Regions from separate parts of the Homo sapiens genome. Here region 2 is linked to region 1. Evidence: promoter capture Hi-C in 16 types of primary human blood cells and fetal thymus (Javierre and others, 2016). All regions are on one chromosome and are shown on one strand. The core of a region is centred on a gene start or on the middle of the fragment in contact, and the rest is flanking DNA. Distances in the headings are between cores, read along the strand shown. Region 1 holds the start of USPL1 (ubiquitin specific peptidase like 1). Region 2 holds the start of SLC7A1 (solute carrier family 7 member 1).

Region 1 (2,789 bases), core at 26-2,525:
CAACAGAAAAAGGTAAACAAACTAACCAGCCTATTTTTGTCTGGAGAAACCCCAACAAACTGCTGGATTCCTTGGCCATTTGCATTCAGAAGTACCAAAAACTAAAATCCTTTTTACTAAATAATTTCTTCTACACGAGACTTGTTTCCTCCACACCACCCTATCCAAATTGTCAGCATTATTCCAGAATATAATCATTTAGTTTGAGACCACTAAAAAACCCCGCAGTCCAAAATACCAATTGTGGTTTTTCTGTAAAGAAATGGTCAGAAACTACAAATTGTTATCCTAGGACACAGAACCAATCGACCAAAAGGACTTCTGGAATATGCTGCCCCCAAGATTTAGAATGCACAGGCAGAAATAGCATACGCGGTCACGATGTCCCTTAAGCCACATGACCTTCCTACGAAAGCAAAGGCTTAAACTTATCAAATGAGAACTCCCCCTTTCTCTGAAGTTAAAACAAGGCAGGGCAGCTGGAATTAGAGCAGCAGGGACAGATCGGCTGTTGACTAGTCAGAACGGGTCGTGGAATGCAAAGTCCCTGCGCTTTCGCTGCTCCCCTTACCGTGAGAAGATCTGGGAGGGAGGAAAGGAGGAGAAACACCCCAGAATCCTGGTAGAAAAGCCCCTGGCCTCGAAGATGGGCTCTAGGGAGACAGGGAGGGGCAGCTCCGTGTGTGATGACCCTTTGTGAACATGCACTCTGTGGCAGCTTCAGCTCCACCGAGGCTTTGGGAGAGCGGACTACGGATGCCCGGCGCGGCCCAGCTGTGAAGGCCGCGCCGGCGGAGAGGGTCCATGGCACCCCCGCCGGCTTCGGAAGCCCTTCCCTCTCCCACCTCCGCGGGTCACCCCAGGAACCAGCGGCTCCCGACCACGCTCGCGCGGACCACGGAACAGCGACGCGCAAGCAGGTCTCTTTCGTCAGCGTAATCCCTCCGCAGAAAGCCGCGCACTAGTTTTAATCACGCCCCACCCCCTGGCCGCTGGCGCCACCTCCGCCACTCGGGCGCTTTCCAGCAGCTTCCAGAAACGTCGCCTCCCCAAACCCAGCCACTCACACATGGCGGGCTCAGCAGCCACCGGCCCCGCCCCTCCTCGTCGCCGCAGTCGCAACTGCGTCTGCGGCCACAGGGCGGACAGCCACGCCTCTGCGGAGGGCGACCGGAAGTGCTCACGTCTTCACCTTCCCCGCCACGCCACCGTCCTTTCAGGCCCAGCGTGCAGCAGGAAGGAGGACTCTTTTGCCGCGGACTCAAGCCGGAAGCCGCCTTCCTAGTGGAGACGCGAGTGGGGGAGGAGCAGTCCGAGGGGAACGTGGGTTGAACGTTGCAACTAGGGTGGAGATCAAGCTGGAACAGGAGTTCCGATCGACCCGGTACCAAGAAGGGGAGTGCCCGCGGCAGGTAAGGGAGAAGAGGGAGGGGTTTCTTTCCGCTCTCGAAATTGGGAAAAGAGACAGAGCTGGGATGACCTATGGGGTAGTCGGCGCGCTGAAAGGATGGGCTGGGCTGGGACGGGGTTCAAGTGGGAAAGGTTGATGATTAAGGTATAGAGTTGGACTTACAGATCCGTTTGGGCGCAGAGAGGTGAACGCTGAAGAGAAACCAGAGTTTGTTTTCGTTTTCCAAGGAGCGTGGAGATGGGCAGGGTTAACGGACCCTGCGCCTCCTTCGGCTTCTTAGTTTGGGTGTTGAAACTCACCTCCTTTGGTCCTGTTCGTCTCTGATTCAAGACAGTTGGGTTTGGTACCTGACAGGGCTGGGTGCAGAAAGCTGACCCTGTTCCTCGGCTTCCAGGTCGGTTGTGGCCTCGCTTTTGACAGTTCACGTGCCGAGCCTACTCGCTCTCGGAGGGCGAGCTCAAATGGGTGGGTTTAAGGCCCCCTCTTCGAACAGCTGTTTCCCTGGGTTTCTCCATTTTGCACACAGGAGTGTGAATTAAGTTTAATTGAATACTTTTTGCGATTCCCAGGGCCACCTTGACACGTTCATTGTGCTATCTAACTGGGTTCATGCTGGGCTAATAATTCACATTAAGGCTTCTGGAGTATAAGTGGTTCACAGAAGTATGAAAAGGGGATGTTAGAAGAAAGATGCTGGGGGTGAAGTAGAGTTGAGGAAGACAGAACTGGAAAGCTAGGTTGGTTTCACAGTACAATGAGCTTTAGGTCATAATACTACCTTTAGGTTATATTGGGCTGTTTGGACGGAGTTTGCTGTAATCAGGCTAGAGTAAATAGAGAATTTTAAACTAAGCATTGACAGGCTCAGACTTGTAGAGGCATCATTTTGACAGTGATATGGAAGGGAAAGAGGTAGAGATTTGAGACCTTTCCAAAGAACTGTCCACAGAATTTGGTGACTTACTGTGCGAAGAGGGAAATAAAGAATAGGGAACAACTCAAGACTTTCTAGTCTGTGTGTTTGGAAGGATGGAGACGCCCACATTTAAGTGAGATATGGGAAGGAGGAGCAGATTGTTTTTGAAGGGAGGAAGAGCAGTTACTTAGGGTCAAATTAAGTTGTAAAATCCCCCCCGGGATTTTGTATGTAAGTCAAAGTGAATTGTATTTGGAAGAAGAACTGGGGAGCCCACCTCTGGTATTTTTTTTATGTCCCTCATATGGACAAATAAACCTCTGGTATTAAATGAATTTTCTTTTGGGGGATTCTATATATTCGGGATTTCAACCACCAACCTATCTGGTTTTTCCCGCTGAAATGTTGGGTGATGGAATCAGGAGAGCAGATTTGGAGACTCTTTATATTTTATAATTGAGA
Region 2 (3,158 bases), core at 438-2,937, 1.0 Mb before region 1:
TCTGTTCGTGTGACTTAAATAAGACCTTTTGTTTTAATAACAGGAGGGTGTGTTCATATAAAAATCATGGTAATTTCCACTGAGATCAACTAAAAATACCAGAGGAATAAATGTATCATGGTTTCCTATTATCTGAACCAAACATAAAGGGCAAGAAATGTTAGGAAAAATCCCAGATAAATTATAATTCGAATTAAATACAATTAGGGCATTCGGCCAGAGGCCGACATACACAATTCTACTAGTCGAATGTAAGTAAGATAAAAGGCACATTCTTTAGGGAGATACACCTGGGATTGAAATCTCAACCATCTGGTAACTATGTCTGGACTAAAACCCAACACATGAGGGCATGGCGGTGATGACGTGAGTATTGGGAAATGTAGGTTATTTATTTATTTTTTTCCTGAAGGCACATGTCTGACTATCCTAGTCACACAAGTCAAACACAACTGCTGTCTGGTTCCCCCATCCCCTGGAAAGGGTCAGGAGCTGAACCAGCAGGCTGTTGTAGTACTACAGTGCAGCTGCCGCTCTGTGTACGCGCAGGTTTTAGAATGACTCTGACCTGCCCATGCCTGGGAAGTTTTCTACTACGCAGAAAGGAACACCCTGAGAATACGGTGTCTTGCTAAAGGCGGAAGAACTTCCTCTCATTCCAAACCATGTGGAGGGCTTGAGGAACCCGGCCTTTCCAGGCCACACTGGGTCACAAGGAAGCCCACCTAGGGGAGACTTCCTCAAAGCAATCTTGGGGACCCAGACGAGAGGTGCAGGCGGCGCGTCCCGGGTTCTAGGGACAAGCGGAGAGCCAGGCGCCCTAGGTCAGGGCGGCCACCGGGCGGGGATGGCAGCAGAGTCCCTGGGCCGGCCACCTGCCGCGGGACCACCCTCCGGGCGGCCGGGCAGAGTCCCCACCCACGGCTGATGACACATCCCCGGACCTCGTGGCGGGGCGGGGTGCTCTGCACCGCGCCATGTAAGGGAAGGTCTCCTCGCCGCCGGCGGGCTCCGTGTGCCTCCCAGTCTGGCCCCCGTGCCCGCCGCCCGCCTACGCACCCCGACCACCCCGTGCGTAGCGGCGCGCGGGTCCCCGGACAGGCGCGCGGAGCGGGCATCGCCAGATCGCCCACGCTTACTCACTCGGTGTTGCATCATGCACCACGCCGCGGTTTCAGGGAGCCAAAATGGACTCCGTGGAGGCGACAGTCGCATGGGCACCAGCCCCGCTCGCCCACTCCGGGGCCCGCCCGGCCCTGGTCCTGGCCCTTCCCAGAGGATGGCAGCGTTCCCGGCGCGGGGGCCCTCGCCACTCCCGCGCCGCCCTGCCGCGGCCCCACGCGGCGCCAGGGCCCCCTCCGTGATGACCCGGGCCCAAGGAGCTGCCCCCTGCGTTGGCGGGGCCGGGCACTCACCAAGCCGGCGGCGGCGGGGCTCCGGCAGGATCGCGAACAGACAGACTGTCGGACGCGCTCAAGGACCAACGGACGCTCGGCCGGCGAGACCGGGCGGGGCGGGGCGGGGCGGGGGCGCGGCGCGCGGGGAGAGGAGTGGAGGCTGCGGTTAGCGGGAGCCCGCGGCCGCGTGCGCGCCTGCCAGGTAGTTGACCCGCTGCTCACACCTGCCTGCGCGGACTGAATGGGCGCCGAGGGCTGGCGGGTTCCGGCGCCAGGTTTCATCAGCAGTGCGCCCGGCCCCCGCCCCTCGCGCTCCGCGCCCCGCGCCCCACGCCCGCCCCCGGACCAGGCAGCCCCGGCCCGCTCGGCCGCGTCACCGCCGGGCACCAATGGGAGCGCGGCGCGGCGGCGGCTGCCAGCCCAGAGGCTGCGGCCGGGGACCGACGCGCCCTTGGTGGGCGGGGCGGCTGAGTCTTCGCGCGCCCAGCGCCCCAACCTGGGGTTCCCGCGGCGGGCGGGCGGGCTGCGCCTCCGCTCGCCTTCTCAGTAGCTCCGTAGGCGTGTGGCCGTTTCTCCGCCAATCTGAGCGCACCGCGCCACAGCATCCTGTGGTCCCCTGCAGATCCCACAGCGCCCTGGCCAGAACTAGTGCTGCAGGTCCGGCCGTGCCAACCCCCTCCCGGCGGGCCCCAGGGAGCTCACACGGAACTCGAGACCAGTTTTCCTTCTCCAAAATAAAAGATTTGGTATGCACTTAAAAGGTTTAAACTGTTTTCTTTTCATTTTAGAGACAGGGTGTTACTCTATTGCCCAGGCTGGAGCGCAGTTCACCTTAACCTCGAAATCCTGGCCTCAAGCGATCCTCCCGCCTGGGCCTCCCAAAGCGCCCTAGGATTACAGTCCTGAAACACTGCACCGGCCTAAAAATTATTATAAATCTTCATGTCTTTGTTATTGGATTATTTTATTACTATTCCTTTGCCCTTGCTAATACCTTATCCTTGCCAGTTGTCAGAAGAGCCCCAAAGCTTGAATCTACCTGTGCCCCCTTGGCAGTGGCAAATGCACAAACGGCTAGTCAGAACGGCTCACTTTTGCAGTTACCCCCCAGGAAGTGGCAGAAGCTTCAGTCCTGAATCACACCGTGCTCACCTTTTAAGCTCCCTCCTTGTCTCCTTTTGTACCAAAAGCCAAGCGAGAATCATAATCTTTAAAGATCCAGTGATCTGGGACTTGGGATAGGTAAACAGGGCATAAATTAATAATGCCATCCTTCTTCTATCTTATAGGAAAACAGAAAAACAGTGGACGGTGTCCGTGGTCTTTGAATCCTTTCTACAGGTCCTTCTCAAATATCAGCTGCTGAACTATTCCCTTGGAATTAGACTAGCAATTTATAAAGTACATAACTGCATGGTGCTAGCTTCAGAAAAAGTGTTCTGTTGTTGTTGCTGTTGTCATTTGTTTGTTTTTTAGAGACAGGGGTCTCACTCTGTCACCCAGGCTGGAATGCAGCGGTACAATCATAGCTCACTGGAACTTCAAATTCCCAGGCTCAAGCCATCCTCCTGCCTCAGCCTCCCAAGCAGATGGAACTACAGGCTTGTGTCATCACGCCTAGTTAATATTTTTTCTACATATAGACACGGGTTTTTGATATGTTGCATAGGCTGGCCTCAAATACCAGCTGTCTAGCGATCATTTTGCCTCAACCTCCCCTAGCATCGGGACTACAGGGATGAGCCAGAAAAAGTCCCCAGA

Evidence for each region. Contacts are between HindIII fragments. The CHiCAGO score rates a contact against its expected background, and 5 or more counts as called.
Region 2: the fragment with the promoter of SLC7A1 here is called in contact with the fragment with the promoter of USPL1 in region 1 in 1 of 17 cell types (naive CD4 T cells); the score reaches 5.8 in naive CD4 T cells.

What each region holds. Positions count from the first base shown.
Region 1 is chr13:30,616,645-30,619,433 of GRCh38, forward strand. USPL1 (ubiquitin specific peptidase like 1) reads left to right here and starts at 1,276. Exons shown (of 9, transcript NM_005800.5): 1 at 1,276-1,412. It also overlaps a transcript of HMGB1 not described here. RefSeq lists enhancers at 674-743, 764-903, 954-1,283, 1,304-1,353. The HindIII fragment of the contact is 4,577 bases long and covers 1-2,789 here.
Region 2 is chr13:29,594,001-29,597,158 of GRCh38, forward strand. SLC7A1 (solute carrier family 7 member 1) reads right to left here and starts at 1,688. Exons shown (of 13, transcript NM_003045.5): 1 at 1,416-1,688. RefSeq lists silencers at 352-646, 815-2,054 and an enhancer at 575-704. The HindIII fragment of the contact is 14,376 bases long and covers 1-2,423 here.